Regions from separate parts of the Homo sapiens genome. Here regions 1, 2, 3, 4, 5 and 6 are each linked to region 7. Evidence: promoter capture Hi-C in 16 types of primary human blood cells and fetal thymus (Javierre and others, 2016). All regions are on one chromosome and are shown on one strand. The core of a region is centred on a gene start or on the middle of the fragment in contact, and the rest is flanking DNA. Distances in the headings are between cores, read along the strand shown.

The links. Contacts are between HindIII fragments. The CHiCAGO score rates a contact against its expected background, and 5 or more counts as called.
Region 1: a fragment that was not itself captured here is called in contact with the fragment with the promoter of RALGAPA2 in region 7 in 2 of 17 cell types (naive CD8 T cells and naive CD4 T cells); the score reaches 5.7 in naive CD8 T cells.
Region 2: a fragment that was not itself captured here is called in contact with the fragment with the promoter of RALGAPA2 in region 7 in 3 of 17 cell types (activated CD4 T cells, naive CD4 T cells and total CD8 T cells); the score reaches 6.1 in activated CD4 T cells.
Region 3: a contact is called between a fragment that was not itself captured here and the fragment with the promoter of RALGAPA2 in region 7, in 1 of 17 cell types (non-activated CD4 T cells). The highest score is 5.0, in non-activated CD4 T cells.
Region 4: a contact is called between a fragment that was not itself captured here and the fragment with the promoter of RALGAPA2 in region 7, in 2 of 17 cell types (naive CD8 T cells and activated CD4 T cells). The highest score is 6.3, in naive CD8 T cells.
Region 5: a contact is called between a fragment that was not itself captured here and the fragment with the promoter of RALGAPA2 in region 7, in 2 of 17 cell types (activated CD4 T cells and total CD4 T cells). The highest score is 6.2, in activated CD4 T cells.
Region 6: a fragment that was not itself captured here is called in contact with the fragment with the promoter of RALGAPA2 in region 7 in 1 of 17 cell types (activated CD4 T cells); the score reaches 6.4 in activated CD4 T cells.

Annotation. Positions count from the first base shown.
Region 1 is chr20:21,387,952-21,390,981 of GRCh38, reverse strand. XRN2 (5'-3' exoribonuclease 2) reads right to left here. Exons shown (of 30, transcript NM_012255.5): 30 at 1,157-1,709. The coding sequence ends at 1,644. Among named protein-coding and RNA genes, the nearest start is that of NKX2-4, 8.1 kb to the left of the region's middle. The HindIII fragment of the contact is 650 bases long and covers 984-1,633 here.
Region 2 is chr20:20,005,112-20,008,004 of GRCh38, reverse strand. No RefSeq gene overlaps it. Among named protein-coding and RNA genes, the nearest start is that of NAA20, 11 kb to the left of the region's middle. The HindIII fragment of the contact is 2,731 bases long and covers 249-2,893 here.
Region 3 is chr20:21,559,099-21,562,194 of GRCh38, reverse strand. No RefSeq gene overlaps it. Among named protein-coding and RNA genes, the nearest start is that of LINC01727, 9.4 kb to the left of the region's middle. The HindIII fragment of the contact is 7,332 bases long and covers 1-3,096 here.
Region 4 is chr20:21,404,406-21,407,468 of GRCh38, reverse strand. The region is part of intron 2 of LOC105372558 (a long non-coding RNA gene); the gene reads right to left. Among named protein-coding and RNA genes, the nearest start is that of NKX2-4, 8.4 kb to the right of the region's middle. The HindIII fragment of the contact is 2,875 bases long and covers 47-2,921 here.
Region 5 is chr20:21,537,901-21,541,172 of GRCh38, reverse strand. No RefSeq gene overlaps it. Among named protein-coding and RNA genes, the nearest start is that of BETALINC1, 9.4 kb to the right of the region's middle. The HindIII fragment of the contact is 2,586 bases long and covers 578-3,163 here.
Region 6 is chr20:21,520,185-21,523,135 of GRCh38, reverse strand. It overlaps a transcript of NKX2-2 not described here. Among named protein-coding and RNA genes, the nearest start is that of NKX2-2, 7.6 kb to the right of the region's middle. RefSeq lists an enhancer at 1,433-2,247. The HindIII fragment of the contact is 5,340 bases long and covers 1-2,951 here.
Region 7 is chr20:20,710,623-20,713,917 of GRCh38, reverse strand. RALGAPA2 (Ral GTPase activating protein catalytic subunit alpha 2) reads left to right here and starts at 1,274. Exons shown (of 40, transcript NM_020343.4): 1 at 1,274-1,543. The coding sequence starts at 1,438. RefSeq lists enhancers at 814-1,013, 838-1,132 and a silencer at 1,124-1,383. The HindIII fragment of the contact is 11,955 bases long and covers 1-3,295 here.

The DNA.
Region 1 (3,030 bases), core at 59-2,558, 680 kb before region 7:
TGAGGTCACGGAGCAGGGCCTGAAGCCGGCTCAGCGAGGGAACACCTGCCAGTTCTGCAGAGGAAATCTGCCGTCATCAGTTTCTCCATCAGGCCTTTTGCTCAGATGTCTTCCAAACAGTGCTTTAAACATTCAGTCAAAAACTGAGTCAGTCTCAGGCCAGCTTAAAACTAAGCCAAAACTAAAGGTCTGAGAATATAAAGAGTGGAATTGTGGGTTTTGACTATGAACTATAAACAGTAAAACATTTATAAGCTCCTTTAGAATATGCAATGCTTTACTGAGATGGCTGTCTACATTTTTAATATTTGGGAGATAAACTTACAGAGAAATTTAATAGAAGGCATTATCACTTGAATGTTGAGCGAAGGCAATTATGTAAGGGTTGGGTTGGTAATTCCTGATGGAGAGACTCTTTGTCTCAACAATAAAGGATCCTGCTCTGGTCACCCATCATTAGCAATGAACTCAATAGCTACAAAATACCTTCCTATTCAAGGTTGAGGTGAGATTTTTTTTTTTCCCACAGACTAAGTTTAACAAGCGTGCTTCAGTTGAATATTAAAGCAAAAATATCCTAAGTCAGGAGGTCAAAGAGAAGCTTTACCTCACAATCTTGGGCTAGGAGGGAAAAACTGAAACAAAGCAATAGTCTCTGTATGTGTGTCTAAATATGTTTTGGCAATCAAATGAAAATGCATATGTAAGTGCTGTATGTGAACTCCAAACACACATTTAAGCAATTTATAGTGTACTTAGTAGCAAGGAAAAACATGAGTACAAATTGCAATCTAATGACATACAAAAATATGCTAAGGAGCATAGACTATTTGGCCATTAATTAAAATTGTCAACTTGAAGATTTAAAACAAGTCCTTAAAACTGGAGAAGTCTACATTAAATTTGTAAAAATGTAATTTATCTCACAAAGATTTCTGAGTTAGCCAGATCAGTCACTGACATAATACAACAAAGTTAAAGCTTTTGTTATGTCTTGCTGACCCTATCTTTTAAAATCTACTTCTTCATTGACTTCTTTGTCCTTTGGTTTGGACATCTGATTACAGAAATAGTTTTCTGCAAAAGTTAATTTTAAAAAACCACGCTTGGTCAAGATTTTCAAAGTTGAAATACTGCAAAATAACAACACAAAACAGAGTTTTAAAAGTTTAACTTTATTTTTTTTTACTAAAGTTCAGAAATTTCTGTAAGACAAGTACATTAATGAAATGTTTCCAAAGAAATACTGAACAATATATACTCTAGTTTGCTGAGGTTCCAGCTCGAGTTCAAACCTAATTCTTGTGCAATAAAAATCAGCATGGATCTTAGATGATCTAGAATACACTGTGTTTTGAAATCCACAGCTGGTTTCATTTTTAACCATTATGAAAAACCAGTACTCCTATTCCATCAAATGTGTTTTATAAGCAATAATAAATTCAGATCCACTGTATTATGCAACATACATCTTTGGAAAGCAACATAAACAGTGAGATCAGATCAGTAGAAATATACACAGTTAAAAGAAATACACAAAGTACTGTAGTTTTATTAAAAACTACTACTTGAGAAAGAAATCTTTCCACAAATAGCATAAAACTGTAGAATGATGAAAGGATTTGGGAAAGCTTTACAAAAGCTTAATTCCAATTGTATCTTCCTGAGGGTGGTGGCAAAGGGTATTTCCTTCCTTCTCTGGGATATCCCTGAAAATAAACAAAAGAAAGAGTTTATTTTCTGGACCGATACTCCTGCAAGTCAGTTAACTTTAAACCTCTATGGAAAAACACATCATAAGGAAACTGAGTATGTGTTAAAGGTACAGCACATGGAAAGGCCCCATAAAAGGTGCTTTGATCCAGAGCTTTAATACAGACTTGTTGCAAAGTTGGAGGCTAGCACAAATGCTATTACTGAAAAATAAAACAAAAAACCTTAACAATCACAAATGCACACAAATAACTAAAGTGTTCTGTGTAAACAACATGTACAGACAGTGGTTCTCAATTTTCTCACTGTCCTAGCAGTAGTAATTCAAGTCACTTTGTGGTAAGATACCCACATCAATTTAGACTTATTACACAAGGAAAGTAACTTTGCTTTAACCAAGGCAAGAGCTTGCTAAGTCAGTTAAGGCCAAATGAGCAATTGATTTTAGGGATTTTTTATTTAGCAACAAATAGTAGGGCTTTAAATGACATATTAAGGTTATTACACAATCCATTAGCCGTGACCTTTATAACATATCCTAGTATGTTTGCAAATAACATTTCTGTATAACAAAAGATAAACCTGACACCTCTTCATTATAAGTCCTTTCCTAGGCCTCTAGGGTTTTGAAATGGAACCCCCTCCCACCTCATTTTGCCACCCAGAGAGCACTTCAGTACTTTAAACATGAACATGTGCAGACTCAAGGCCAGAATGCAGGCTAAGGCCTTGTTTGGTCATATAAAACTTTACTAAAAATACAATGAAGTAATGATTCTATGTTTTTAACAACAAACTTCTGCAATTTAATAGTGCTTCAACAATTGTGATTTAATAAAAAGTATCTCCCTGGCAAAGGGACTGAGAAAGAAGAAATGTTATTTTCAAAAAGTCCTAAAAGAATAATAAATTTACCAATTGGTTTATATCTTCTAAGTAAATAAGAATTTTACCTCCTGTAACAGCACAGAGTTCCTTTAAAAGGAAGATCTCCAAAGGAGAGAGGAAAATGGATGAACTGGGGTCAGCAGTCTAGGCAGCCAGCTACCAGTTCTCCTGCTGAACCGTGTGGGGTTTTCAGGGTTTCAGTTCCTGACTTGGAAAATGAGGTGACTAGACTACACATTCTCCAAGGTTTCTTCCAGTTACAAATAGTCCTCACTTCAAAAATGCTCATCACTGAAACGGCCTAGTGCCATCTAACCATAGTAACATAAAGAGCCTTAGTTCACTGACACGATTTTTAGAGGTCCTGGGCTGAAAGAATTCAAAGCAAAATTCGATAAACTGATTCAAATAAACTGTAACAAAATCTCA
Region 2 (2,893 bases), core at 365-2,864, 710 kb after region 7:
CAAGGCCCCAAATATACCTTGAACTAATGCTTCTCAAGCCAACTCTAATGTGCTCGTGAATCTTGTTAAAATGCAGATTCTGATCCAGCAGGTCTGCCAGGGGTCTGAGATTCTCACAAACTCCCAAAAGATGTGATGCTTGATCCGTGGACTATGGTTTTCAAGGCAAAACCCTAAACTATCTGTTCAATGAGAGTTTGCAATTTGTCAGGTCTCATATTTTCATGTGCTAGCGAAAAATAGAAGCTTTGTGATGTCGTAGCTGCTTCACTTACGTATTTTTTTCTGATTGGTTAAAGAGTCTCTAGCATTTTATTGTTTTCTGTAGTTTTTCTTTCAGTAGATAATAGATGCATAAGTCTTTTCTGCATATGATCGTACATCAATAGGCTGCAGAGAAAAATGGGAGTGAGAAAGATAAAATGGACGGAAACTGCAATCTGGTAAATAAATGCATTCTCTCATAATTTGTAGAAGTGGTGAGAAATCGGAAGCACGCACATCAGAAATAAAAAGAATTAATCACGTCAACCTCTGTATTCTTCTTGGTAAAGCACCAAGTTTTAAACAATAGTCCTGTTAAATGATATAAATGGACATATAAATTCGTGAATATAATAAAGTAAAAGGGGAAAAAGGTGGAGGAAAGTGGTTAAAATAATCACTGACTATAATTATGCTTTTACTTAAATAATAATTCCTTTTTGGGAAATACTATTTTAGACTCTTGTGCAGGCAGAGATGGTTCCTCTTAGGATTTCGATCTGCCCGTGACTGGGAAGCTAGCAAGACGTCTTTGCAACCTCCCTTGCTCCCTTCTCCCTTCTTGGCGAAAGTCACCCCTGGCTATGGGCCCTGATGATGCTCTTGACCAGCATTGAATACTGGGGAAAATGAGCTACTCCCAACTCACACGCACACACCACCATCACCGCCATCACCACCGTCAGCAGTAACAACAATAAAGTTAGGCCAGGTGCGGTGGCTCACGCCTGTAATCCCAGCACTTTGGGAGGCCAAGGCGGGTGGATCACGAGGTCAGGAGATCGAGACCATCCTGGCTAACACGGTGAAACACCATCTCTACTAAAAATATAAAAAATTAGCCGGGCATGGTGGCGGGCACCTGCAGTCCCAGCTACTCAGGAGGCTGAGGCAGGAGAATGGCATGAACCTGGGAGGCGGAGCTTGCAGTGAGCCGAGATCGTGCCACTGCACTCCAGCCTGGGCGACAGAGTGAGACTCCGTCTCAAAAATAAATAAATAAATAAAATAAAATTAATGACTAGTATTCACTTTATGTTTGATCTTCCTACATTGAGCAACCCGCCCCAGTACATTTTTCTTAAACCTTTGATACCCATTACTGCCTTTCTTCTGTTTCACAAGAAACTTGCCAGCAGATAATAGCATGAATGGGTAAGCAGAAATAAGCAGTAGGGGTGAAATGCCAAAGCAGTCGATTATCTAATAATCATAATAAGTAACATTTAACAGTGCTTGTGGTGTGGTGCCTGGATGTTCTAAGCACTTTGCATGGATCAATTTATGTTTGCCTTACAGCAGTGCCTGAAGAGGCAAGATGCTATTTTCATCCTTGGCTAGTAATAGGTACATACGTTTGACAGGATGCATGTGTCTGTTCCTTTGTAGATGTAACCTGTGAATGTGTTTTATTTTATATACACATACCGTTTTTTTTTTTTTAACTTTTAAGATCATCCCTAGTTGATATGCTAGAACTGCACTCTCCAATATGGTAGCCACCAGCCACATGTGGCTATTGGTTATTTAAGACATGGCCAGTGTGAAATGAGATGTGCTGTAGGTGCAAAATGCACACAAGACTTTGAAGACAATATAAAAAATAAAAAAATGTAAAATGCCTCTTTAATATTTTTAATTGATTGGTTGTTGAAATATATTTGAGATATCATGAGCTAAATAAAATTACTAAAATTGATTCTACATATTTCTTCTTGATTTTTAAAAATGTGGCCACTAGTAAATGTAAAATTACCTATTATGTGGCTTGCTTCGTATTTCTACGGGATAGCACCAGGCTAGAAGTACATGTTCCATGGTCCTCTGCCAGCCAAATCAGGTTGAGAATGCATGCTTGGTTAGGTGTCAGTGGTCTTGGTTAGGCAAAGGTGTTACTTCTCGCAGGTGTGTTTTTATATTAAAATCCAGATTTTGATCTAAACTAGTAGTTTTCACAGCAGAAGCACCTTGGAAGTTTAAAATAAATATGGCTGGCTGGGTCGCCTCTGCAGAGATTCTGATGGTCTGGGCAGCTGGGGCATTGGGAGTTTTAAAAGGCTCCGGGTGACTTCAAGCTGACAGCCAAAGCTGAGAGCCACCTATTCAAATGGAACAACGGACACTGGGTCTTGGTGACAGATAGTGTGGGCGGGTAATGTTTGCAGTGGGGCCGGGTTCACACTTTTTGAGTCTCTGGTTGGAACTGAAGAAACAAACTGTGAAAAGGATCAGAGCCTGCTTTTTGGCAAGGAGGCTTGGAATAGAGTTAAGAGCACCCTCAAACCTACTACGTGAGGGAAAACCCAGCCCACAGAATCATGGTGGGGAAATGGGAAGAAAGGGAAGCAATGGAGCTAATTATGTGTAGTGATATTTCCCCCAGGAAACCGAAGGCTGGTTACAGAGGTGAAGGCCGTCTAGGAGCTCCTCCCTGGCCACCCGTGGTCCTCAGGTTCTGAGCCCCTCTCCACAGGTGGCAGGATCTGACCACCCCCGTTCCCCAGCAGTGAGAAATGAGGGCTGGCTGTAGTAGTTCTAATGTGTGCACTCAAAGGAAATACTCAGATTCATTAATGTAATGATAGTCTAAGTGTCTTACATGCAGCCTCAGAGTTCAGGCAAATTTTAC
Region 3 (3,096 bases), core at 321-2,820, 850 kb before region 7:
GTGAGAGTCAGTGCTGAGACTTTTGCTGAAACCCTTGAGAAAAGGTGCTAAGTTGGCAAGACATAGGCCTGGAGCTGCTGGTGACTGTTTTACCTTTGCCTGAGAGGAACCTGCCTGAGGATGGAGCAGGCAGGTGAAAGCAAAAGAGACTGTGAGACGAAGTAGATGGCACCCTTTTATTCCCTGGATCCAGCCAAACCTGAATCCAGACATACATTTTTCAGTGGCATGAGCTAATAAGTTTCCTTTCTTGCTCAAGCCAGTTTGAGGTGGGTTTTTGTCAAGTGCAGTTCAGAAAGTGCTGATACATGAAACATCACAGTGCACCCGCCACCCCACAGAGGGGGATTCCAGCCTCTCTTCTGGAGGCTGCCTCCATCAGGCAACCATCTTCAAAAAGGCCCCAGGATGGAGCAACAGAACCCTTAGATGTCAGTCAGTGTCATCACCTCCCTGCTTATATGGGAAGACTGGGGGACAAAGAGGGGTAAGGAATTGCCCCAAGTTGTGCCTTCGACAGAGCCAGATAGGATATCAGCCCTTGGCTCTATCAGTAGGCACACCCACGCCAGGGGGCGGGTGAGAGCCAGCAGGGAGCGCCACCCTGGTCTCCTTCACAAGGACACCCACTGTAGGGAGGGGATCTCACTACTTCATGAAAAGTGGCTTTATTATTGCCCACTTCTCAATGTCTCCGTGTTTCTAATTGCAATCTAAAAAACACACCCTTTTTTTTTTTTTTGAGACAGGGTCTCACTCTGTCTCCCAGGCTGGAGTGCAGTGGCGCAATTCAGCTCACTGCAAGCTCCGCCTCCCAGGTTCAAGCGATTCTCCTGCCTCAGCCTCCTGAGTAGCTGGGATTACAGGCTCCCACAACCATGCCTATCTAATTTTTGTATTTTTAGTAGAGACGGGGTTTTGTCATGTTGGCCAGACTGGTCTTGAACTCCTGACCTCAGGTGATTCTTTTACCTCGGCCTCCCAAAGGCTGGAATTACAAACATGAGCCACCACCCCCAGCCAACACACCTCTTTTTAAAAAGCCATATCAAATCCATGATTCCTGGGATGCTATTGCTTAGAAAAGTATTTGTCGAACTGTAGCCTTCTAATTAGCAACATCAGAATCACCTGAAAAATTGATAAAATGCAAATTCTCAGCCCCTCCCCAGACCTACTGCACCCTGAGGGGGAGATCCAGCCATACGTCATTGAACAAGACCTCCAGGTGATTCTGATACATGTTCAACTTTGAAAGCCACTGGCTACGGCTAAGTAAATTTTTTAAATTGGTTTAAAATTGATTTAATGAAAATTACAAAGTAAATGTAAATGATTTGTGAATATAGCAAAAATGTAGGAAGCTGTACAGAAGTGATTAAATATGAAGAAGTGCCATCCTATAACATTGAAGCCTCTAGGAGTGCAATGGAAGGAAGGTCTATAACAGCCCAGGGAGATTAAACCCACCCGCAAACACTGAAAGAGTCCCCCTATGCTGGCAAGGGGGGCTTTATCACTTGTTTGTGTGTTGTTTTGCTGAGGGACAGAGAGTTTACCTGTTTGACCGTTTATCCCTCACTATTTGGAAAACTATAAAATAGAAGAGTCCTCTCTTTTAAGATGATCTACCCAGATGACTTGGGGACTTTCCCTTTGTTATAGATAAACAGGTTTTGGCCCTAAGGCTTTGAACATTTCCCGGTGAATAACAGTCACTGCCGGTTATACAAACCCAGCTCACCTTGAGCACATGAGACCCAGTGAAACCATCCCGTCACATGGGAAGGGTGGGCCTGAAAGAGCCTTCACAATCACAGAGCATCCATAACGACCTTGAACGCAGATTCTTAAGAAGGACCAGGGATGCACGTGGTTTCCTTGATAATGAGAGCGTGGATTTCAGGCGGGGCCCTCGGAATGCTTGAACCCAGCCCCACCAGGGGCTGCAGTCCCTCGTGAATCTGACGCATCTGCTCAGAACAGCCTTGAACCACATCCATGAAAATCATTGTCGCCACCGTTGGACCCACCTCCCCACTGAATAGGAGAGCAGAGTGCTTTGTTGAGACCCCTTTCCTAAAGGGTTCGTCTATTTCTTTAACCATGTTTATGTGGGATTCTCTGACATTCAAAAGATAGCAGACTCGCATTTAATGTCTTTATAGCGCAGCACTGTGTGTACCCTCGACTCCAAATGCAGAATGTAACTCATGAGCATAAAAGCTCTAAAGAAACCTTGGTCACTCATGAGGATGGCATAAAATCCAGAGGTGCTGTCTCAAGATGGGGTTCATCTGTCCCTGAAATGAAGACACAGTGGTGGTCTTTAATCAGAAGACAGCTCTGGGGATTAATTGGTGTGAGAATGATGAAAAACAGCATTGTTTCTTTGTAGTCTATTTCTTTTTGTCGTTATTTTTTATTTTTTTTAAATTGGGATAAAATACATATAACATAAAAGTGATCATCTGAACCATTCTTAACCATGCAGCCCAGGGCATTAACACACATTGTTGTGCAGTCATCACCACCATCCATCTCCACAACTCCTTTCATTTTGCAAAACTGAAACTCTATGAGTGAAACAACTCCCCGTTTCTCCCTCCCTCAGCCCTTGGCAACCACCGTTCTACCTTCTGTCTCTACGAATTTGACCCTAGTCTGTTTCTGAGTGAGACCTTTACCCGACTCGTTACTGGGTAAATCCTAATGAGAGTAAAATTGTCTCAGCCCCTCAGCGAGCAAGTTTCAGATTCAGGCATCTCTGGGATACCGGTATGACCATAAAGCAGAACTCACAGAATGTGGCCACAAGTGGGGGTTTTCTGCTCAGTATTTTGCTCTGGATTTGTTTATGTGAACATCCCTGGGGTAGCAGCAGGCACACTGGGTTTAGATTCAGAAGAATTGGGATTGAAAACCCAATGCTTCATTATCTTGGAGAAGCCACCTGCTCTCTCTAAATCTCTTAAGTTGGTTCTCATTTTAATTTTTCTTTTTTTTTAATTTTTTTTTTTTGAGACAGAGTCTTATTCTGTCGCCCTGGCTGGAGTGCAGTGGTGCGATCTCAGCTCACTGCAACCTCCGCCTCCC
Region 4 (3,063 bases), core at 235-2,734, 690 kb before region 7:
GCTCCATATACTTCCACACATTATTTGATTTGTTTTACAAAAAGCTTTTATCACCTCAGTAATTTTAATAATATTGAGTTAATAATGATCAATGCCAGTGTTCTACAAATATTTGTCACTATACCTGAGAAACTATATTATTCAATTATCTAAGAAAATTATTTCAAGCCAGTCATGGTGGCTTATGCCTATAATCCCAACACTTTGGGAGGCCAAGGTGATGAACTGCTTGAGCTCAGGAGTATGACCAGCCTGGGCAACATGGCAAAACTCCGTCTCTACGAAATATACAAAAATTAGCAGGGCGTGGTGGTGCCTGCCTGTAGTCTCAGATACTCAGAAGCTGAGGTGGGAGGATTGCTTGAGCCTGGGAGGCACAGGTTGCAGAAAGCCATGATCATGCCGCTGCATTCCAGCCTGGACAACACAGCGAGACCTTGTCTCAAAGAAAAGAAAAAAGCAAAAATGAAAATTACTTCATTACTGTAGTACCTAGAGGAAAGAAACACCTTCTATTACTGCTCCATTAACTCTACTCTAACCACTTGAAACTTCCAAACCTTCTGCTGCCCTTATAAAGAAAATGTATACAAAACAAATATCCAATTAAAATAGTCATCAAAATCATCTGGCAATGTAAGAATAGTCTCATTAACAACGGCTACTCAAAAATACCACAAATCAGGCCAGGCACTGTGGCTCATGCCTGTAATCCCAGCACTCTGGGAGGCTGAGGTGGGCGGATCACTTGCGGTCAGGAGTTTAGACTGGTCTGGCCAACATGGTGAAACCCCATCTCTATTAAAAATAAAAAGATTAGCAGGATGTGCTGGCGGGTCCCTGTAATCCCAGCTACCTGGGAGGCTGAGGCAGGAGAATCGTTTAAACCCAGGAGGTGAGGGTTGCAAGTGAGCCAAGATCACACCACTGCACTCCAGCCTGGACAACACAGCAAGACTCCGTCTAAAAAAAAATTGCATAAATCATCATCTATTAACCTTGTAGAGATGCAGGAGAGCAGCCATAAATAACTTTAAGATTTCTTTTTCACCCCTATTTAGAAGATCTTTACGTTTGAACTGTCAATGTTGATGACACTTCTCTTCTATTGTACCTATTAAATGAGATAAACACATAAAGCTCATGAAAGTAACTAGTATGTTAGTAAGACAAATAAATATTAGTAATGTTTACAATTTTTGCCTTATCCCCACCTTACAAATGGGATGTGTTCTGAAAAGTTCATTAGTAAGTCAGCTATTTAGAATTTGACATGCATTTTCTTTTAGACATATACATATATATATATATATATATATACACACACACACATATATATACACATATATATACAGGATATATTCACATGGATATAAACATATAATTTCAAATAGTACATAAAAGTACATAAAGTAATACATATTATGTATACATGTCTTAGTCCATTTGCTATATAGGAATACCTTAGTCTGTTGCTATAAAGGAATACCTGAGGCAGGGCAACTTATAAAGAAAAGAGGTTTATTTAGCTCACAGTTCTGTAGACTGTACCAGAAGCATCTGCTTCTGGTGAGGGCTTCAGAGTGCCTCAATTTACGACGGAAGGTGAAGGAGGGCAGGCATCACATGGCAAGAGGAAGCGAGAGAGAGAGGAGGGTGGTGCCAGATTCTTTTAAACAATCAGATCTTGCAAGAACTAAAGGAAGCAGTCACTCACTACCAGAAGGAAGGCACCACGCCCTTCATGAGGGATGCCTCCCCGTGATCCAAATATCTCCCACCAGGCCCCACTCCAACACTGGGGATCAAATCTCTGCATGAGATTTGGAGGGGTCAAGCATCCAAACTACATCAATATATAATTTTAAAATACTGCTCAACGTCAGGATATGAATGCCAGGGATAAGTTTATTCTAATATCAGAGGGGCTCCTTCCCCAGTTTTCTAAAGCACTAAGACAATCTTAAGCATATAGTAATCACTAAATAAATTCTTAGTTAATATAATTGTATGTGTTCATTCTAGATCTTTTTGCTCTGGAGGATTTTTTTAGTATGAAAAGGAGAAAACATAGGTAGAATATAATATTCTCTTATATTTAGAGTGCTTTGTGGGAAAGAACTAGAGTTAGTTTGGCATCAAAGAACTGATCTAGGACTGTTACCTGCAAATTATGGTGACCTATTTAGCCTCAGTATCAGAACTTTCTAATAACTAGGATATCAAACGATGTTGTAGTTTCTATGAAGTTTTTTTTTTGTTTTTTGTTTTTGTTTTTGTTTTTGAAACGGAGTCTCACTCAGTTGCCCAGGCTGGAGTGCAGTGGCGCGATCTCGGCTCACTGCAAGTTCCGCCTCCTGGGTTCACGCCATTCTCCTGCCTCAGCCTCCCAAGTAGCTGGGACTACAGGCGCCCGCCACCACACCTGGCTAATTTTTTGTATTTTTAGTAGAGACGGGATTTCACCGTGTTAGCCAGGATGGTCTCCATCTCCTGACCTCGTGATCCACCCGCCTCGGCCTCCCAAAGTGCTGGGATTATAGGCATGATCTATGAAGTCATTTTTTTAAAGTATGAAGCATTCCTGAATCAGAAGGCTACAAACCTGAACCATATTTTGTTCCTAAACCTTAGAGTCCTTAATTGAGATGATTCGATGTTGAGGTCTCAGACTTTTTAGGAATGGCCACTACAACAAGCCAATATTTAAAAATAATTCCATCTGCTATAGAACTATTAAGATGTTTATGTTCAGTGCTCCCTCCATGAAGCCCCATGACAAATTTTTTTTTAGAGCTGAGTATTAGGAAATGCCTCTTTCCTTGAGAAATGTTGTGTGTATGTCTGTGTGTATTGGGAGGGTGTTCTTCCTAAATGCAAGGAAAATATAACTGACTTTTTCAATTGACCACGAGGAAGCTTAGAGCCAAATGTGAGGCTCAACTATAGGAATTCAGTAGGCTTTATAGCCTGTTTAGTTGATGTTTTTTCAACTTATATCTTAATTTCCTACTCTTTTATAAGATCCTTATTTATGAGGTCTTGAGTCTTACTAAATGTTTA
Region 5 (3,272 bases), core at 621-3,120, 830 kb before region 7:
TCCTTCCTTGCCACAGATGGAAACTCCACCAGAGCCTCTGATTTTTCAGCTCATTCCTGGGAAGCAGAAGTCTTACAAACACTTTAAGCCAAAGTCTCAGTGTCATAAATCAGGGTGTCCAGTTAGTTATCAAAAGCTTCCCTCAGTCAAGAGTTAGACTTCTCCCCACCTTTCTCATATTCGTCTTCATATCCCCTTCAGGCACAAGTGTGGGTAGCCTCTGCTCTCCACCTGTCTATGCCCACCTCCTCCTCCATTTCCTGGTCATTGTTTTGGGCCAAGCTTCCTCCCCAGAACCCACCTGGGTGAATATGACTGGCATGTGGGGAAGAGGCCAGGCACTCAGCAATCCTTACTCAGCTAGGAGTTGCTCCCCTCTGTCTGGCAGGTATGCACTGGACATTTTCTCTTGGACACTGCCTTGAGTCCTGTGGAGATTCCCGCAGCCACTCTCTCCTGCACATCCCTCGGCTAAGGCAAGCATAACTCTATGCTAGGCAGACACTTGAATTGTCCCCGCAGGACCCTGGGATCCAGAGGCAAAGTTCGGTGGATTTTGCATACAGCTAATGAAGCTTAGGCCTGAAGGGCCCCCCGCATATCGAGCATTACAATTTATTAAGTGACTTTGAGCAACTCTTGAGATTCCAGTATAATTTTTCTTCATTGCTTTATTAATAGATTGAACTACATGAGTGGGTTTTGCACAACTCTCCATAACAATGTGTTTTTAAATTAAACCACTGATAGTTTATCTACATCACTGATTATTTCAAAGAACCAGTGCTTGGGTTTTTTCTTTAGCATGATTGTTTTTCTGTTTACAAATACACTTATTTCTGATTTTTTATCTACTTTAATCCCACCCTTCTGCTTTATTTAGATGTTTTGTTGATCGTTTTCTTAACTTCTTGAATAGAATACCCTTTATTTTCATTATTTCTTGTTTAATAATGAAACTGTTTACTTTCTTTCTGAAATTTATGGAAGTTTTGTTGTAGCTTAAAATGTGGTCCCTTTTTTGTGACTCTGACATGGGTGTCTGAATAAAAGTGTAGAGATTTCAACATAGATGCATGATGTGGCTGGTCTGTCATATGTAAAATTGATCTGTCTTATTACTTATCAATATTTTTACTTTTTATTTTGAAGAAATTCAAAACTACAGGAAAATTATAAGAATAATGTCAATGAACCGCCATATATGCTTCACCAGCTACTCACACTTTGCCATTTGTATGTGTGTACAGGTGTGTATGTGTATACATGTATGTGCGCATGTATGTATGTGAATGTGTATGTATGGATATGTGTATTGTGTACATGTGTATATGCAGATGAGTATATGTGGATGTATATGGATGTGAATGTATGGGTGTGTATATGTACACATGTGGATGCCTGCATACATATATGTATGTGAATGCATGTATGTGGATGTGTGTGGATGGATGTGTGTATGTATGTATGTGAATATGTGGATGTGTACACGTGTGGATGTGGATATGTGCTGTGTGCACGTATGTGTATATGTATGTGAATGTGTGTATGCATATATGTAGATGTATGTGAATGTGTATATGTGTATATGTGGATGTGTGTATATGTAGAGGTGTATATGTGGAGGTGTGTGTGTGTGTGGATGTGAATATGTGTATGTGGATGTGCACGTGTGTGGATGTCTATGTGTGGATATGTGGATTGTGTGTATATATATGTATGTGAATGTGTGTATGTGTATATGTAGATGTGTGTGGATGTGTATATGTCTGTGTGTGTGTGTGAACCATTTGAGAGTAAGTTGCAGATATAATGACCCTTCACCCCCAGATTCTCTACCATGTGTCTCCTAAGAACAAGAACCATCTCTGTAAACCAAAGAGCAAATATTTAATTCAGGAAATTGAATACTGATACAATGCCATTATATAATATCAAATATATTTAATATTATCTTTATTCACATTTCACCAGTTTTCCCAATATTCTCCTCCAAAGCAATATTTTTTCAATCCATATTCCAATCCAGGATACTTATTTTTTTGTTCCCCTTAACCTGTATGATTGAGAGAGATTTGGCAGACTTGTGTTGTGCACATTTCTCTTCGTGTTTTTTGCTTGCTGTCTGTACTTTGATGCTACATCCATGTATATGCACTGGGGCACTGTGTTTGGTAAGGAGATGTCATCCATTCAAGGATGCGTCCTTCCACTATAAGGACTTTGCTGGAGATGAGGACAGTTCTTCAGCTCACCCCTCCTAGATTTTCATGCTGAGTAGACGGGCTTGGAGAGCTTGCGCTGAAGCAGCTGAGAACCACCACATTTTCCCTAGAGGACGCCATTTAAGATCAAGAGGATCCCTGCATCTAAAACTCAGTTTCTGGGGCAAAAAGGACTTCTGAAGATAAACTCTTATTGAGATATTTCCTGCTCAGTAAGGAAAAAAAAAGGCTGAGTGCCGTGGCTCATGCCTGTAATTCTAGACTTTGGGAGGTTGAGGTGGGAGGATCACTTGAGGCCAGGAGTTTGAGAACAGCCTGAGCAACATAGCAAGACCCCATCTCTTAAGAAAAAAAAAAAAGAATAAAATGGGTAATTAAAAAAGGATAAAAAAGAAAATTAAGCCAGTCGCGGTGGCTCACGCCTGTAATCCCGGCACTTTGGGAAGCTGAGGCGGGCAGATCACGAGGTCAGGAGATCGAGACCATCCCGGCTAACACGGTGAAACCCCGTCTCTACTAAAAATACAAAAAATTAGCCGGGCGTGGTGACGGGTGCCTGTAGTCCCAGCTACTCCGGAGGCTGAGGCAGAAGAATGGCGTGAACCTGGGAGGCGGAGCTTGCAGTGAGCCGAGATTGCGCCACTGCACTCCAGCCTGGGCGACAGAGCAAGACTCTGTTTCAAAAAAAAAAGAAAAGAAAATTAAAATAGGATAAACCAAACAGAAACAAATGAATCTAATATTACTTCAGATGAGTAACATATCCATACTGGAGAAAAGAAAAAAATGTTTAATTAATTAAAAAAACCTATTCCAAGTAATTTTGAATGCAGTACTCTATTTCTCCTCAGTTTAAAACCAAAAAGAACTAAATAGATATTGAACTTCAATTAGAATGTTTGTTTATCTCAACGGTATGTGTTTGCAACACTGAAGCTTTTTCTATATTATGTGGGATTGAGCAAATGAATAAATAATCAGAGCCAGGTTTCCCACCATTAAAAAAGGGAATTAGAAATAGTGAATTTGGCCAGGCATGGTGGTGTG
Region 6 (2,951 bases), core at 139-2,638, 810 kb before region 7:
TTAACCAGCAGTCCGGGCTCGCCAGGAGCTGCGGAGTCCAAGGCACTGCTGGGGACGGAGGAGGGGCGAGGGTCAGGAGAAACCTGGGGTCCCAGATCTCCTGCTCAGAGGGGCGCAGGAGGGAGGGAATCTACCCGCGCGTTTGGGGGCAGGGGGCCGAGGCGGGGTGGAAGCCCCCTCCCCGCAAAGCCTACCATGTGGCAGCTGAAAGAGCCATCGAAGCCCAAGTGTGTTTGCGCTCATACCCAATTTATTACCGCTGAACATATGGCCAATATTTTGACTCACGTCAGTCCGGCAAGGAAAACAAACAGAGCGCGCGCGGCGCGGGGGAGCTGCCCCCTCCGCTGGGGCTGCGCGGTGGCCGCGGGGCCGGAGCTAGGAGGGTGGGGCCGCTGGGCCGGGAGCCTGGAGCCAGGAGCCCGGAGCCGGGAGGGGGAGCGCTCGCCGGCCGCGTCGAGCCGCCGCCCGACCGCCCGCGACTCCGCAGCCGCCCGCGACTCGGGATAAAGAGCGGCCGGGACCTGCGCGCTCGCCCAGCCGAGGCTCCAGCGGCGCAGTCGCGCTCCAGGTGAGCCTCCAGCTCGCACGCGTTTCCGGTGAACGCGGGATGGGGATGGCGCGGGGCACCCGGCGGAGCCCGGGAGCCGCAGCGGAGCCCGGCGGTGGCGATGGAGGAAGCCCGGCGTCGCCCTCGCTGCCAGGCGCTGACTGTCTGGTCCTCCTGCCACAGCCGCCCGGCGCGGGAACGCGCTCCGGGCACGGTCACCGCGGCCTGCCAGCAGAGAGGGGTCTCGGGGCACCGTCGTCGCCGCCGAGCGGCGCCGGAGCTCGGGTTCACGGCGGACCCCGGTTATGAGCCCCTCGCTCTCCCGGGTCCTGACTCGGCTCGATCCCCAAGCCGCGTAGTCCGGACGCAGCAGGTGGGCAAGTGCGGGCCTCCGAAGTTCTCCCCGACTTTGCGGATCACGGCAGGAGTGGCGAGCACTCGAGGACGGGCAGGGCCCCTCTGTCGCGCCTGCAGTCAGGAAAAGTTTTACCAGCCGCCGAGGCCAGGTGATCCCGCCGCTGCGCACTTTCCGGTGCGGTCAGGGAAAGCGGGACTGTCCCAGGGGCTGGGAAGGTGCGGGGCTGGGAGGCGGAGGAGGAGGGAGGGGCGCGGCACCCGCGGCGGTCCCCGCCTGCGGTCCCCTGAGCCCCGCCTGGTAGGGCGCGCGGTGGGGGAAGGGCGCAGAGCGAGGGGGGTCCGGGTAGGTGGAGTACTAGATAAAGACGCGCCTTGAAATGCGGCGGGGCTGTCGCCGCAGCTCCGGGAGTAGAAGGCGGAGCGGGCGCGCGGAGCGCCTGGCTAGCTCCCTCCCGATTGCCCGGGGCCGGTTGCGCCTCGGCTGGCGGGGCCGCGGTGAGGAAGGGGCGGCCGCTGCACCCACCTCCACCGGGTAAGTCGCCCCCTGTGCGTCGCAGGGAGCTCGGGATCGGGGATTGAAACAGAGGCAGAAGTCCCGAAGGTAATTTGGAGATGGCGCCCAGTGGAGACAGGGGCTTCTCCTCAGACGGAACTGGGACGTGAGGGGACGGTGGTGATGAGCACGAGGGCAAGTGGTGGGAGTCGCAGACAGGAGGAGCCGGGGCTGAGGGCCCGCGCAGTGGACTGAGGTCTCTGGAGAGGCGACTGAAGACTGGAGTTTGGGAGGCGAGTGTCGCCTGGGCCGCGCCCGGCGCCGGACAGTTCTCGTTTGTGTCAGTAGAGATCGCCAGAGGATCAGAAATGAACCTCGGTGGGGTCCTTGTCTCCGAGGGGCGCCCCCTCCGCCCCAACCTCCTCCCACAACACACACGCACACACTACCAGGAGGCCCTTTGGAGCTCCTCTGGCGCCTTCTCGACTTTAGTGGCTCTTGGGGGTGGAAAGGGGACGTTGCGTCTAGGGGAAGGTTGTGAACCTCTGGGGCTCACATTGGAGAGAGAGAGACAGAGCCCTAGGAACCCCCTCTCTGTGCCCGAGGGCCCAAGGGTGCATTCCCTGTCCTTCCCGGAACCAGCCCTTAGCTCCAGCTAAGAGCGTGCCTTCTCCGCGCCACCGACAACTACTTTTCACATCAGCCTGCCCGACCCAGCTTTAAGTGCTGAATGCAACCCGTTAGGAGAGCCGCTTGTTTTCCAAAGTCTTGTGGTAATGATTTTGTCACGTGTTAAGAAGTAAATTCAGATAAGAGAGTGCTTTCAGCGCGTGTTTCCTGGAGAAACCCAGATCTCCCGTATTGAAATCGCCCTCATCCGGGGAAGGTCGGGCTTGGCTGAAAGAACGTTCCTGAAGGCAACACTGACGATGCGTAATCTCATTGTAACATATTTAGTCATTAGAGCAGCGCGAACGAATAAAGCCAAGGAGTTCGCCCAGGGGGACGTGGCGTTTGGTTCCCCAATAAACCGGTGATAATGGATTGGCTGGGACAGGCTCGTTTGGCCCGAGGGGGGCTTAAAGCTAGGTTTTTAAAGAAAATATTGGAGAGAGGCCGGTTCCATTTTGTAGCGTGCCCGGAGCCACAGTTCGTGTTCAATTTAACATCCATGAAAGTTAAACGGCTTTCCTCGCCTTTTATTTTATTGGATGCATTTTTAAAGATCTCATTAAAGTGCATTTATCAAAGTCCTAACATATGCCCGCAGGGTCTTATGCCCACACAATGAAGCTGATTAATAGAAAGACAAATACTAATTTCTATTACTATTTACATCCTTGGGAGATATGTGCCCCTTTTGTGGTGGGAGGGAGGCAGATAATTGGGAAAGTGTTGTATATTTTGCCTTGAAAAAGAATAGGGAGAAGGGAGCTCACCTAGATGCCTTCCTCCTGCATCCACAGTTAATCGCAGGGGGACTCCAGGCTCTAGGTCCCAGGATCAGTTCTCTCCGTGGCATCAATGGGGTTCCCGCCACTCTGTAGGAAC
Region 7 (3,295 bases), core at 25-2,524:
TTCCTTTTCGCCTGCCTGGTTGAAATATGTAGGACTACTTTAGCTTTTTATTGTATTTCATTTAATAAACTTTTATTGAGTGACCCTATGGGCCAAATACTGTGCTGAGGGATGGGGATACAAAGGCGTGTAAATCCTTGTCTCTTCCCTCAAGTTACAGTTCAGCTAGAGGAGAAAAAGACAGTTGTGTTGTCCCAATTTGGATGGAAACCACGTGATTCTACCTTAAGTACTTGCTGAAAAAGCTGAAAGGATGTCAAAACTTGCAGGATTCGGATGCCACTATACAATCCTACAGTGTAAGAAATCTCCTGACCATCTTTCAGCTCAAAGTCTTGCCCCAGGGAATAAGCGCCTGGCTTTAAAAAGTATACAGGCCTGAGTCAGATCCCTCAGGTTCTATTTCTGGTTCTGCTACTGGATCGCCATGTGGCTTGCACAACAGAGAACGCACCCTTCCTACAAAGAGGCAAGATCCCAAGGAGCCCTCTGAGCGAGCGACCTCCATACCCCAAGTGAGGTTGGGTTCCAGGAACCTAGGGGCCGGCTGAACTCCTCACCGGGGCACGCTCTTCCCTAGTGCCAAAGCAACTCATTTTAGTGTGAAATTAGAGCTGCGATTTCGGCACGGTCAGAGGGGCTTCGACTCGCTCCCTTGTGTGAATCCAGAAGCTAAACCTAAAAATAGTTTGCATTTGAAAAGCCTTGACACTTTTCTTACTGAGATTTTTGGGCGTGTGTGGTTCACGTTGCACTAGAGGAAAATGGGGTGGGCGCGCAGGAGGGAGAGTGAAACCACGGGCGATCTAGGCTGCCGGGGCAGGGGACGGACAGAGGCCGCCCTGCGCTTCTGCGACCCTGGAAAAGAGGTCGCAGCGCGTCGCCTGCTGGAGAACTTCATTTCCCAGGAGCACTTGCGGCCCGCGGCAGGGCGGGGCGACGTGCCCAATGCCGGCCCACTGACTCCCATCGTGCCGAAGACCGCCAGCCTGATTGGAGGACTGTCTCGCGGTGCATCTCGGGACTTGTAGTACAACGTGTGCGTGAGAGAAGCTCCTTTGTGATTCGAGGCGCCTTCTCGGCCCTCTGAGCGCGTCCCCGCTAGGTTTTGGCGCGGACGGGCTAGTGTCCCGCCAGGAGAGTTCGGCCTGTGTGCGCGTGCGTAGCGCCCAAGGGGCCGGCCGGCACCTCCCGCGGGGCGGGGCCTTCGGTTCCCCGTCGACACCGCCTTCCTGCCCCGCCCCTCGCCGTGACCGGCCCGCCCCTCCTTCCTGGAGACACAGCTGAGGCGGCGGCGGCGGCGGCGGCGGCGGCAGCAGCGGGGCTGGGGGCGGCGAGTGGCCCGCGCGACACGCGCCGGCCTCGACCCTATGCTTTGATTCGCGTGGCGCAGGCGCCTACTGCCCCGCCGGCGGGGCCCGGGCTTCCTGCCGCGGGATGTTCTCCCGAAGGAGCCACGGGGATGTGAAGAAGTCCACCCAGAAGGTGCTGGACCCGAAGAAGGACGTGCTGACCCGCCTGAAGCACCTGCGGGCGCTGCTGGGTGAGGCGCGCGCCGGGCGCGGGGGTCGGGGCGCCGGGTTAGGGGCACCTGCCGGGAGGGCGCTCCTCTGTGCAGGGGTCGGTGGCTGGGAGGCTGGGGAGGGGGATGGGTGGGCGTCCGACCCCCTTCCCTGGATCTGGGCTTGGACCCCCGGGGCTTTGTTTCCAGAAAGCCGCAGCCTGGCCCTCGGGCACTGCTCCCGTCGCCCTCGAGTTAAACTTAGCCCAGATTCTCGCTGGGCGCCTGCGCTCCCGGAGAACCTGGAGGCCGGGCACAGAGGTACCTGTCCCCTGTCCTCCCAGCAAGTGAACTGGATCCCAAGTGGTCATCACGTGCACACATTGAACTGTCACCTCCCCCTTTCATTTTTAAAATTTTATTTTTGAGTCTGAGACCCTAAGTAGACCGAGACCCCAAGTGAACCCAGCACAGACCTAATTGGGCTCTCATCTCTGTCATCCCCCTTTTAAATTTTATTTTTACTTTTGAGTGTGAGACCCCCATATAGACCGAGATTCCAGGCGATCCCAGCACAGATTTGTCATCTGTCTTCCCATGCTGCTTTTTAAATTTAATTTTTATTTTGGGTCTGGCTGCTTCAGTTTCTTTGTGTCCTTGGTGTGAAGGGGCCTTCTCTTCCTGCTTGGAGAGAGGGGTGGTTTTCTTGGGTTCAGGGAGGCTGCTTCTCCTTTATTACCGGCATGACAGTGATGCTGTCTGCCACCTTCTGGTTTATGGCCTGCCAGGTGGAGGTTCTGAGGAGCTCAGGTGGGCTTGGAGTTGACCTGTGATGAAGCTCGCCCCTGTGGGTGTGAGGTGTCCACAAGGCTTCCTGTCACCTGCTGCATGTGATCTGTAGCTGGTTCGCCTAGGCTATGTTTTGTTTTCTGTATTTTTTTACATCCTAAGTCTTAACTTTTCTTTGGGATGAAAACACCTTTGCTATCTATAGACACACTTACCTGTGTATTTGGTGGCGAAGGAAAGAACACCTTATGTTTCTTCCAGGTGTCTTTTAGTCCCAAAATTCACAAAAATCGCCTAGTGCTAATGTGTCTGTCACTTGAAAGAATATTGCATAAAATGATTTAACGTGTGAAGATTTTAAATAAAGATCTTGTTCATGAGATCAGAAGTTGCTGATTATTTCTATTTATATTCTACCTCTGAGGGGGAGAAGAACCCAAGCCAAACCAAACCACACCTGATTTTGCCAAGTGAAGTTATTCACAATCTCACATACCTTGAGGTTACACTGACTTGTTCAGTTTGAAATGAAATGTAAATTAGTTGCTGTTACAGGGATTCGTTTTCAAGACTTTTGAGAGTGAAGTGTGGAGAGTGAAGTGTGGCGTTCTTGGTAAACTGAATTTTCTACTTCCTGTAGATACCATGCACGCACAGGTTGCACAATACACAGGTTGCATTGTGTGGAGTTCCTGGTAGTGACTGATTAACACCTACTGCAGGGACATTTTTGATAAAGGAGAGTTGAGCTGTGTTTTAAAGCGTTTGATACTTTGAGCCTTTTTCTGTGCTTTAGCGTTTAAATTTTTGTTCTGTCCAGGTCTGCAAGATTAAGTTGGCTACATTTTATAAAGGCAGAATCAAGTAAACCTAGATCAGGTTATTTCTTAGCACACAGTACATTGTTCCCATTCTGAGAAAGTTGATTCTTTTCAAGTTTGTAAAATTGTAGTTTCACTCTAAGGTGTAGGTCTTATTTTAGGGAACTTTCTTTTATCATTTCAC